Linked DNA regions of Homo sapiens: region 2 is linked to region 1. Evidence: promoter capture Hi-C in 16 types of primary human blood cells and fetal thymus (Javierre and others, 2016). All regions are on one chromosome and are shown on one strand. Each heading gives the region's core, a stretch centred on a gene start or on the middle of the fragment in contact. The rest is flanking DNA. Distances are from core to core; before and after follow the strand shown.

Evidence for each region. Contacts are between HindIII fragments. The CHiCAGO score rates a contact against its expected background, and 5 or more counts as called.
Region 2: the fragment with the promoter of CDK4 here is called in contact with a fragment that was not itself captured in region 1 in 1 of 17 cell types (neutrophils); the score reaches 5.6 in neutrophils.

The regions. Positions count from the first base shown.
Region 1 is chr12:57,240,876-57,246,906 of GRCh38, forward strand. STAC3 (SH3 and cysteine rich domain 3) reads right to left here. Exons shown (of 12, transcript NM_145064.3): 6 at 5,929-6,026; 7 at 4,270-4,336; 8 at 4,041-4,090; 9 at 3,662-3,747; 10 at 3,440-3,491; 11 at 3,213-3,350; 12 at 2,583-3,035. The coding sequence ends at 2,937. Among named protein-coding and RNA genes, the nearest start is that of COXFA4L2, 6.8 kb to the left of the region's middle. RefSeq lists an enhancer at 1,353-2,256. The HindIII fragment of the contact is 8,886 bases long and covers 337-6,031 here.
Region 2 is chr12:57,751,060-57,756,996 of GRCh38, forward strand. It overlaps CDK4 (cyclin dependent kinase 4), which reads right to left and starts at 1,251. Exons shown (of 8, transcript NM_000075.4): 1 at 1,116-1,251; 2 at 441-677; 3 at 148-283; 4 at 1-31. The coding sequence starts at 658. It overlaps MARCHF9 (membrane associated ring-CH-type finger 9), which reads left to right and starts at 4,044. Exons shown (of 4, transcript NM_138396.6): 1 at 4,044-4,826; 2 at 5,870-5,937. The coding sequence starts at 4,470. RefSeq lists silencers at 401-540, 1,271-1,350, 1,581-1,700, 3,807-4,046, 4,487-4,586 and 1 more and an enhancer at 877-1,610. The HindIII fragment of the contact is 8,675 bases long and covers 1-5,697 here.

The DNA of each region.
Region 1 (6,031 bases), core at 3,530-6,029:
CACACCCGGGCACAGAGTCGGACACACCTGGGGCTCAGGTAGACACACCTCACATACCCAGGGAACAAACGGACACACACTAACCACACGCCGGAGATACAGACGTCCATAATTGCCAGGGGCACGGAGAGCCCACCCACACCCACTCAGAGGCTAGCACACCTTAGCATATGCAGGAGTTGCCATCTGTGCCCTGCGGGGTGGAATGTGGCAGGGAGGTCGTCAGGGTCTCCGGAGCAGGCCTTGTTAGCCTAGCAGTATGATGAGGTCTTGGTGACAGGAGGCGCCTGGGGCTGTGGACTAGGAGGCCCGTGCACCAGGGCTTAGCTGTCTGCAAGCTTCCTTGACTGGCCCCTAGGGCGGGTAGCGCCGACGTTGGGCTGCCCCTGAGCAGCAGACCGGGCGGACCCCACTGACCCAAATCGGGCAGTTTCGTGGAGGGAGAGCCTAAAGGGAACACTGGAGCTGCACCGAGAGATTCTCAGGATCCCCAACACTGCTGCTGGTGGGGTTTATAGAAAGGGTCACTCTGTACTCTGCCTTTTCCCCCCGTGCTGCCCAGTCTTCCAACTTCAAGGGGCACGTGTGTGTGTGTGTGCGCGCGCGCGCGCGCTGAGTAGAGTGGGCAGTGGAGGAGGTTGGGGTGCCGGTTGTCTTGTACCCCAGTACCGGCCCTTCCTCGGATCTGTTTTCAATTCAGTCTGCTCCTTGGCCCAGACTTATGACCTTTGCAGCATGCGGCAGTATCATCCATCACCCAGGCGCCGTTTAGGGGGATGGAGGGCGCTGGGAGCTCACATAGGGTCGCTGTCACGCCTGCCGCCCTCTCTGGGGACCTGCTCTCCGGCCCGCGGGCCAGGGCTTAAGAGTCTTGGTGAGTAATGACGGGAGGGTGTGACCGTGGGGCTCGATCGGGACACTGGGTCACATGTCCCCACCCCTGGTACCCTAGCACCCCTCCTTCTAGTTCAGCACAGCCTGTTTCCCCGCTTTTCCCGCCCCCCTTCTCTCGGGCCCTTTGCTTAATTTCCTATTAACTGCTGATAAATCCAATTAAACCGCCGCTCTAATTAGGGACAGCTGCCGGCTCAGTGAGGCTAGGGAGGGGGGCGCCCCCCGAGTGTTGGGGGAGAACAGCCGCTCTCCCTGCTTCTCGGCATCCGCACACCAGCATTGCCGCCCAATGAGCCAGTAAATTGGTTTTGCCTTAGCATTGGCGGGGGTCTCTCGAGGATCTCGGGGGGCTCTGATTTTGAGTCCCTCAGACCTTGATGAATAGAGACGACCCGAGCCCTCGCGGTCCCTCCCCTCATACATTCCTGGTAGGTGGATTTCAAGGAAGGATAAGGACAGAATGCTTGATTTGCGTGTGGTTGGTGTGTGTGTTTGCCTGTGATCTGTTCCTATTCCAGCTCAATCGCGATTAAAGGGGGGGGTCTTCTTTAATGACTCCGCCCCCACCCCCTCAGGCATCCGGGACCGTCAAGGGCAAAGGGAACAGAAAACTGAACCCGGTTCTGCAGAGTCTTCTTGTGTGCTTCCCTACCCCCATCACACCTCAGCCTTCTGGAAGGGGGGCGCGCCCGTCCCAGGCCTCCTCTTCCCCAGCCCAGCTGAGCCTCTGCCCTCCCCCCGCCAGCAGCAGATGGTGCCCGGGCTCCCGCTGCCAACCTTGCTAGGCGGTGCCAACCTCGGTCCTGGCAGACAACGGGCAGACGAGAAGAGGAGCTCCTGGCTGGCCAAGCCGACCCTCCCCCACCCGGCATCGAGCTCAAGACCCCCCCCACACACGCCTGCCCCACTCCAGCGACCACCCCAGCCTGCCTCTCACTGGGTCCGCTCTCAGGTCCCCAAACTCCTCGTCTCCTTCTGCTCCCTTCCCCACACCTTCCTGCTCCTCGCCACCTGCCGCCCTGACCAGGGCCGGCGTATTTGCATATTTGCATATGCAAATAATAACATTTGCATACGGTGCTCCGCAGGGGTGTCTCCGCGAGAGCCGGTTAGCTGTCTGCCCTCCGTTCTCACTCGGTACCTGTCGGAAAGGGTTAGGGCAGGGGCCGCGCGGGTGGGGTTAGGCCCCCGGCCTAGCTAGCTCGGTTCTCGGAGGACTTGAGGAAGTGTTGCCATGGAGACGGCACGCACCCCACCCCCTCCCAGGCCCAGGGTCTCGGGCTTGGTGTCTCTGGTTGTCTCCCCTTACCCACCCTCCACCCCCTCCCCATCCCTCGCTCTCCAACCGAGATCTTGCATCGCCCCCTGGCGGCCTAGCTCGGCGCCAAGCCAGATTCCGAAATGCAAGGGGCTGCCTGCGGCTAAATCGCCAAGAGCAAGGGGGGACTTACCCTACTACAAGATCCTGCTCCCAACCGCTGGGGCGCGGGGGCGGCGACTCCAGCCCTGCGCTCCCCTTTCTTTACTGACTACAGAGGCCTCACCTGGCGGGCGCACTTCCCACCTCCCGCCAACCTCAGCCCAGATGGGTCTCAGGTTACCCGATGGTAACGAGGCGGGACAGCTAGGGAGGATTCTCCACCCCTCCGCAGGCCCTCTCCTCAACCCCAGTTAAATAACAACTTTTCTAAGTTTTGTCAAAAGTTTAATAAATTCGCAACATTCGACAGTTCGCCCTCCCTCGCCCCCGCCCCCCGCCCCAGTCCCTGGCTCCTCCTAGTAGATACGCGTTTTTTTCCAGCTCTTGCAAGCGGGGCCTGAAAGGTTTCGGGTCCGGGCTGCTCTGGGCAGCAGGTATCCGAGGCCCCAGGCTGGGGAAGGGGGCGAGAACCAGTCCCTTCCCGGAAGCCCCGTCGCGCTCAGGCGGGCCTTCCTACCCCTCCTCTCCCAGCAGTCCCGTTGCTTTCGCCCCCCTCCCCAAACTCCACTGGGCCCGCCCAGAATGGGGTGTGGGTGTCTCCCGCTTGCAGGCGCCCGCACGCCTAAATTTCCTCTAGAAAGTCGGTGGGAAACAGCCCCACCTTGCGGCCGGTGTAGACCTTGACGTAGCCGCCCGCTTCGTCTCCTTTCTGCACCACGATCTAGAAGATTAAAGGATCAGAAGTAGGAGAGGAATCAAAGGAAAAGGTAGGAGAGGACAGCAGGGGAGCCGGGGTTTACAGGGGCTCACCCTAGTCTTATTAATGGTTAAGCTCTCCAAGGAGTGTGGTGGGCTAGGGAGCATTCAGGCCTGGGATTGGGTTGGGGCAACAGCCTACCTGGTCCTTCTTGAGAGTGATCTGCCCTATCTCGCGGTTCCCCACGAAGGATCTCGTCACGCGGTGCACACGTTCTCCAGCCCGGACCCGAATGATGAAGTTTGGAGGGAAAAATCCGACCTTCTCCCCGATTTTCCCCTAGGGAAGATAGTAGGGAGAGTCCATCTCTCAATGTCGGGTTCTGGACTCAACCCACACTCCACCCTAGCCCTAGCCATTTCTCTCACCCGCCACCATTCTTCATTGGAGTCATCAATGACTGTGATCTTCTCTCCTGGCCTGGGAGGGGAAGGGAGGGGCCTCACTCACATAGCAGGTCCCCTGCTGTGCCCCGGGTCCAGCATCAATAGGCTCCAAGCCCTGAGTCCCCCCTTTTCCTTTCCCTTGGGGGAACCCAGCTCTTTCCTCTTCACTCCGCAGTACCAGCCCCCTGCCCCAAGGCCTCTCACGGGAAATCCAGATCGTCCTTCTCCAGGGCTTTGAACCGATAGAGAGCCACAAAGTAATGAGACTGCTGGAAGCCAGGCTGCTTGTGCTGGGGGTGCAAGGGAATGATGAGTCTTAGGGCTCCTCTACCCCACACTGAGGGGCAGGATTCCAAGGCAGGGACATTCACCACACACTCTACACTCCAACTCTCTTCTAGGTCCCTGAACTGAGAGAAGTGTTTTGGTCGTGGGTGGGTGTGCAAGTTGATGGAGAGTGTGGGTCAGAAGTGATGGGAAGCCTAGGAGTTAAAGAGTGAGCTTCTGCCAGGGCCATGAGTAGTGGTGTCAGAGCTGGGTTGGGGAGAGAACTGGGTTCCTTGCAGGGAGGAAGGATTCTTACCTTGTCATCAGGTGTCTTCTTCTCAGCCTTCTTATCCCCTTCAGGGTTTCCTGGGATAGGAAACACCAACAAATTGTCTGTCTCCTGGAGGGCAATTCTTATTCTCTTACCCTTTTGTGGAAGGGCCTCGTCTATCCAAAGCTGGCCTGCCCTTTGCTCCTCCACCCTCTGTTCCACAGCTGAGCCTCTGATCCTACTCCATCTCTGGATGGAGGTGGGTAACACTCACCATCCTGGGGTTTGCCTTCCTCTGGTCTGGCCGACTCTGGCTCCTCCTCCATCATGGCTGCTACAGGCTGGAGGGGGCACCAGAGTTAGGGAGACGCTGTCTTGGGAACACATGCCCTGGCTGTCTATAATCAGGTCAGAGAACTATAGAATAATGGGATCTCAGAGATCTCAGAGTTGGAAGAGGCCTTGGAGGAAATATCTAGTTCAGCCATCTGCCTAATGCAGGAACTTTTTTTTTTTTTTTGAGACGGGTCTCCCTCCGTCACCCAGGCTGGAGTGCAGTGGCGCAATCTTGGCTCAGTGCCAGCTCCGCCTCCAGGTTCACGCCATTCTCCTGCCACAGCCTCCTGAGTAGCTGGGACTACAGGCGCCTGCCACCACGCCCGGCTAATTTTTTGTATTTTTAGTAGAGACGGGGTTTCACCGTGTTAGCCAGGATGATCTCAATCTCCTGACCTCGTGATCCACCAGCCTCGGCCTCCCAAAGTGCTGGGATTACAGGCGTGACCCACTGTGCCCGGCCATGCAGGGACTTTCCCTAAAACATCCTATCAGGTGGGTCACCCACATTCTGCTTGAATGTAGCTAAATAACAGGGAATTCACTACCAGATTCCAGGTCCTTGACTATGCTGTCAGCCTTTAAAAATACTCCAGTGTGTAAGTAAAAAGTGAGCAGCATGGTCAGGCGCGGTGGCTTATGCTTGTAATCCCAGCACTTTGGGAGGCCGAGGTGGGCGGATCACCTGAGGTCGGGAGTTCGAGACCAGCCTGACCAACATGGAGAAATCTCCTCTCTACTAAAAATACAAAATTAGCCAGGCATGGTGGCACATGCCTGTAATCCCAGCTACTCGGGAGGCTGAGGCAGGATAATCGCTTGGACCCGGGAGGCAGAGTTTGCGGTGAGCCGAGATCGTGCCATTGCACTCCAGCCTGGGCAACAAGAGCGAAACTCTATCTCAAAAAAAAAAAAAAAAAAAAAAAGAGCAGCACAATTTTTATAATTCCCTTAAAAGAATATAACCCAAGAGTATGTTAGCCCTTCTGGAAGCAGCCATATCACATTGCTAGTGCCTTACAAGTCATTAATTCACTCCATAGAAATCCCTTATCTGTGTCCAACCTCCATATCAACAAGTTTGAGGCCAGATTTCTAGTTGTTTTTTGCAGTTGATTTTTTTGATCAGATATGTACATTTATCTTTTCTTTTCCCTTCCTTCCTTCCTTTCCTTCCTTCCTTCCTTTTTTTTTTTTCTTGACAGGGTCTCACTTTCTCCCCCAGGCTGGAGTGCAGTGGCTTACTGCAACCTCTGCCTCCCGGGTTCAAGCGATTCTCCTGCCTCAGCCTCCCAAGTAGCTGGGATTACAAGCGAGCACCACCACACCCGGATTTTTTATTTTTATTTTTGTATTTTTAGTAGAGACAGGGTTTCACCACGTTGGCCAGGCAGGTTTCGAACTCCTGACCTCAGGTAATCTGCCCACCTCGGCCTCCCAAAGTGCTGGGATTACAGGCGTGAGCCACCATGCCTGGCCGAGTTTTGTGCAATTTTAGGGGAAGACAATCCATTACTTCTGTCAGCTTTCCAAATGGGAAAATGACCTGCTCCATGGGATCTCTGGGAGGGACCTCGTGGGGAGGTACAGTGCTCACATTTTTCTTATCTGCCTGTCCCTTCTTCCGTTCCTTGTTTGCCATGATCACCCCAGTGCGCAGGGTTTCAAACACAGGATCATTGCGATTGGCAGCAGCTAAT
Region 2 (5,937 bases), core at 1-2,500, 510 kb after region 1:
CTAGGCCTCTTAGAAACTGGCGCATCAGATCCTAGTTTCAAAGGGGAGGTACAGATGCACTGGAAACTAGGCACCATACCTGAAATCCCAGAAGGTTCTACTACAAAGGTCCCAATCCACCTCTCAATGCCTACCAACCCCACTCACCTTGATCGTTTCGGCTGGCAAGCCTGGTGGGGGTGCCTTGTCCAGATATGTCCTTAGGTCCTGGTCTACATGCTCAAACACCAGGGTTACCTTGATCTCCCGGTCAGTTCGGGATGTGGCACAGACGTCCATCAGCCTGACCAGAGTAAATGCTCACTTTTCAATCCCCTTTAACCCAACATGGCCTCTCATTATTTCCTCAGGGTCCCCACTTCTCTACAGATCATCACACCCCACCTATAGGCTGTCTTTTCCCTTTACTCCCCACGCCCAACCCTCCACCACCTTCTCACCGGACAACATTGGGATGCTCAAAAGCCTCCAGTCGCCTCAGTAAAGCCACCTCACGAACTGTGCTGATGGGAAGGCCTCCTCCACCTCCTCCTCCATTGGGGACTCTCACACTCTTGAGGGCCACAAAGTGGCCACTGTGGGGATCACGGGCCTTGTACACTGTCCCATAGGCACCGACACCAATTTCAGCCACTGGCTCATATCGAGAGGTAGCCATTCTCAGATCAAGGGAGACCCTACAATCACAGACTCCTATCACCAAAAGTCGCTTACAGAGTTAGGATGGTATGAGCCTGCAGCAACAAAGGGACTCCCAAAAAAAAAGCGCAAAGAACACCACCAGCATCCCATCCCCCGCTCCCAGTCTTCCTTGGGGCCGGCCCCAGAGATAACACAATGACTCAATACCAACCCCTCCAGCCACGTGAGGCCCTGCAATAGAAAACGCTTTTTCCTTTGGGACAATCGCGCCCCGCACAAAGATCACACATGACACATGCCTTGCATCGAAGATCCTACACCTCAGTCCCTAAAATTATACTTTCCCATGACCACAAAGGCCCCACTTCCCGCCCTTGAGCGACCCTTCCATAACCAGCTCGCGAAACGAACGCGTGGAAAGCTGTGAGGGGGGCGGGCACTGGTTCTCATTCCTGGGAAGGGACTGCACTTACCTCACGCCAGCCCGGGGTGCTGTGGGGGCGGCCCGTTATCGGGGCCCCGGAGCCGGTTCCTACGGCCCCATACACCCGAGCTCGGTCCGGAGCAGCTGGACGCAGAGGGCCCGACCATAGACACAGGCCGCAAGCTAGAGAGGCCCCCTCACCCCCACCCTCACCATGTGACCAGCTGCCAAAGAGGCGCGCGGAAACTGGGAGGGCGGGGCGAACGCCGGACGTTCTGGGCACGTGACCGCCACCCATGCGCTGAGGGGCGGACAGGAGGTGCTTCGACTGGGAGGAGGGCGAAGAGTGTAAGGGGGCGGAGGGGCGATGGCAGCCACGTGATCTGTTGCTATCACACGTGACCGCTTGACATTGCTCTGAGGAGCAGAGGTGTGGCTACGCGGCGGGCACGTGACTGGCTGCCACAACCCCCGCTGCAGGGGGGGAGCGGTGAGGGGGACAAGAGAGGGTGGAGCCCGAGGCGGTGCCATGGCAACCTAGGCCACCCAGAGCCCAACTCCCGGCTGAAGGATTGTCTCACTACCGGTCTGAAGGCTGAACTCCAGTCTCACTACCGGTCTTTCAGCCTGTCTGCATTGGGGAGGGGGTGGGAGTTGGGGTACCAGAGGTGATGCTGTCACCTTTTCGCTCCACCATGAGAAAACATACTCTCATTTGTGTCATTGTTTCATTCATTAATTCTACAACATTTTACTGAGTGCTTGCTTCCAGTGTGTATGTGGGTTTTTATTTTGTTTTTGGTGTCTGTCACTGGCCCTTTAAAGTAGTGGTACGACTATCTATAAAGATGTAGCCAACAATGGGGTCTTCTACAATAGGGAGTAAACAATGCCCATTTGAGGGCAAAACTACGATTAAAGGATGACGGAAGGCAGATTAATACAGTAATCCAACAGGCTCAGTGACAAGGTAATCCTCTCACTTTTCCAACTTCCAAACCTCCCTGGGAGTGTTAATGCAAAGACCTGAGGCCATCTGGCAGAGAAGTTATTGATGAGCAGGAGACAGGAATACTTGACCTTTTAAGTTTTTTTTTTTTTTCCAGTAGGAAGGTTCTATGATTATGTGATATTTGTATGTGTGCATATATGCTTCTATGTATATATGTATGTATATGATATTATTTATCACATCATATATAAGACGGATACAGGATTGCACATGTGCAAGAAAGTTACCACCACACCCCCTGCACCCTCCAGACCACCACAATGAATGAAAATGACATGCCCCCTTCTGCAAACCTTGTGACTACTCATTTGGAGTTATTGTGCTTCCCTCTTTTTCCCTAGTGCCGCTTTCTTAGCACTTAGCACTGTCCAGAACACACTTGTTCCCAAATGGCCTCTGCCCAGACACCTAGGTAGACACAAGTAGATTTCTCCTACTTTGTTTTATTGGCTCCAAGGTCTTTATCTCCCAGCCCTTTGGGGGTATGGGAGTAAAGGAGGAAAGCGGTTAGTGTCTCATTTGTGAGAATTTGTCTAAAATCTAAAGCCATTTTATTACCCTATTTGCCACTCCTTCCACTCTAACTTCTGTTTTCCTTAACCATCTGGCTGAGAATATAAGAGTTCAAACTAGAAGATGAATATAAACCATGACTTAGAGCAAAATAGAATACATATTAATACAGATGCCTCCTCTTTCCATCCTGATACTTGTAGCCCTGGGCCCCTCCTGGCAAGGGCAGCTGGAACACTAGTAAGAAAAACCTCAAGGACTGAACTGACTAAGGGGCTCAAGAGGTGAATGTTTTATTGGCTACCTTGCTAGGGGTGGGTGCTTTGTAAGCCTTCTGGAAGGCTAAGATAATTGTCTGTGAGTTTTTCAAACTCCCTTCCCACACCAGCATTCCCCACTTCAGCCTCACCTTCCACATAAGACCTTCACAGCTTACTGTCTTTGCAACAGAAGACGTCCTCTCTGTCTGCTTGGGTCCCAGCCCCTTTTTCTGATTCATTCATTAGTCCATCCAAAACATTTGAATACTTCATGGGAACATTACTGTCTCTCCATCACTTTCTATTGAGGAACCTTAATTTGGCAGTCTGTCCCAGGCTCTGTCCCCTCCCTTCTTCTGTTAATTACTCTTTCACTAATTAAATTTTTTCCCAGTATGTTTGACCCAATGAGCTCCCCTGGAATCCCTTTTCCCTCAGCTTTGCAAAGGGGAGGAGAGGGAGAATGTAAGTGTAAGAAAGAAAAAAATGTGATGGGGGTAGAACTTGGCCTCAGAGGGAAGTCTCCATAAAAGGAAAGGGGTAAGTGTGTGTATTGTTCACTTCAGTGTAGTGGAGGTGAGGGCAGGAGAGTACCAGGAAAGACACTCCCATCCCTTTAGCACGCCTACCTCCCCTGCTCCCTCCCTCACCTCCTTCACACATTACAATCACAGGCTTCTGTTTCTCAGACAATCCGATTCCATTCCTTACACACCTCTCTTTCCCAGTCCCCATCGATCACACTTTTCAGCCCTTTGGGTAAAGTGTATATTGCTTGAGTCCCACCCCTGCCCATGTACCTCCCTCACACCTCCGACACTTGCACAGCTCTTTCTTTGCACATTCCCATTTTGCACAAGCCTCACCCTCCCTGGTACACCTGCGTCATTTAACCACTCACCTTCCATGCTCACCCGCTCATCCCCCACTCCCAGACACACACCTAGTCAACTTGTGTGCACACTCCCCTTCCTTGGCCACTCCCCTTCCTCCACCCTCCTCGGGATCCCACACTTGCCCCCGCCCCTGGGACACCTGCTCGTGCGGGGCAGGGCGGGGATGCGCAGCCGCGGCCCCTTCTCCTCTCCCCCTCCCCGCCCCGCCCCTCCCTCCATCCTTCACCCGCTCCCCGGCGCCCGCCCCGCCCGCCCGCCACTCCGGGGGGGTCTCCGCCGCCGCCGCCGCCGGAAGGAGCCGCCATTTGCCACCGCCGAGCGCACGGGCCGAGCCAAGCCTGATCCCGGAGCCGGAGGGGGACTGGGACCGAGAGAACGGCGATGGGGGGCGGCCCCGCCGCAGGAGGACCCGGGCGCGTAACCCCGGGGGCCCGGCCCGCTCCAGACCCAGACCCGCGGGGTGCGGCACCCTGAGCCCCCCTCCCCGCCCCCTGCCCTGGCCATGGCCGCCCACCCCGCCGCCCCCGGGCCGCCAGCCCGCTCGGCCCCGCAAGCACCGGAGCCCCGGCGGTGGCAGCAGTGAACGGCTGTCGCAGGCCCCGAAGACCCCGGCCCGGCTCGGCTCTCTAGCGCGCGCCCCCTTCCCGGCCTTGTCCTCTCCCCTCCCCCCGCCGCTAGCGAGCCCCCCTTGCACGCTGCCCCCCGCCCCCGGTGTCCGGACGATGCTCAAGTCTCGGCTCCGCATGTTTCTGAACGAGCTGAAGCTGCTGGTGCTGACAGGCGGGGGGCGGCCCCGGGCCGAGCCGCAACCCCGGGGGGGCCGGGGAGGCGGCTGCGGCTGGGCGCCCTTCGCTGGCTGCTCCACCCGGGACGGCGACGGCGACGAGGAGGAGTACTACGGGTCGGAGCCGCGGGCCCGGGGCCTGGCCGGCGACAAGGAGCCGCGGGCCGGACCCCTGCCGCCGCCCGCGCCGCCGCTGCCGCCCCCGGGCGCGCTGGACGCCCTGTCGCTCAGCAGTAGCCTGGACAGCGGACTCCGAACCCCTCAGTGCCGGATCTGCTTCCAGGGCCCGGAGCAGGTCAGGCCTGGGCACCTGGCCGGGCGCGGAGGGTGGAGGCGCGCACCTGGGGTGTCAGCGGAGACCGCGAGCAGGCGCGGCGCCTAAGGAGGCTGGGCGGGCCCCAGGACACGGAGTGGGAATGGGGTGAGGCCGAGGGGCTGGCAGGGGACTCCTGGAGCGCTTGTTTGTGTCGGAGGGTCAAGGGTCCCCAGGAAGGGGTGGGGCTTTCTCCCCGGAGAGCGCAAAATCCCTCTCACCCATTAACAGGGACTGCTGTTCTCTCCTATTTCCCTCGCCCCAGGGTCTCCGTAAGCTAAGGGGACCTGTTCTCTTGCAGGTGGGCAGAAAGGAGAGTGCTTCTGTGCCCCCCTTGAAGGGAGGGGCCCAGCCAGCGCCCTTGCTTAGCTCAGTATTTCTCCCCGTGGGGCACTTTTTTTCACTTCCCATTCTGCAACTTTCTATCTCATTCTAAAGAGTATTCTTTGTTAAAATTTTATGGGCAAAGTTGTCCCAGAATAGTGCCAGGGGGTGTCTCTGTGTAGTGAGAATTGATTCCATGATTAAAGGGAAACACCCTTCACTCCCACCTCCGCGATTTCTCCCCTTTTTAGTACGTGGAAACCGAGGACCATAACCCATCCCAGTTTGCGCCAGATCTGTGAAGTAACTTTACAATGATGGGGTGGGGGAAGGAAAGCATGGCTCAGAAGCTCTAACACTCCCCTCCCTCCAGATCCTAAGAGGAAGCCTTTCTTTTGAGAAGTCTTAAAGACTACCCATCCCAAATTCTAGGAAAAGAGAAGACCCAGCCCTTCTCCCCTCTAATCCCCCCATCCCTTTCCATCTTTCATCTCTTTGGTATGGGAAGTTTCCCTTGATCTCCAAGGGAAGCTTCTTTTCTGTTGCAGCCTTACTTAGCCTCTTGCCCTGTCTTGGGTGAAAGGCCTGAGTTATTTAAGGTGGGAAAGTGACCTGAAGAGGAGGTTTCCCTGTCGGGGAGCGCGGCTGAGTGGGGTCGGGGTGGTGATGGCTGACAGGGCCCCTCCTCACTCTTCCTCCAGGGGGAGCTCTTAAGCCCCTGCCGCTGCGACGGCTCAGTGCGCTGCACGCATCAGCCCTGCCTCATCCG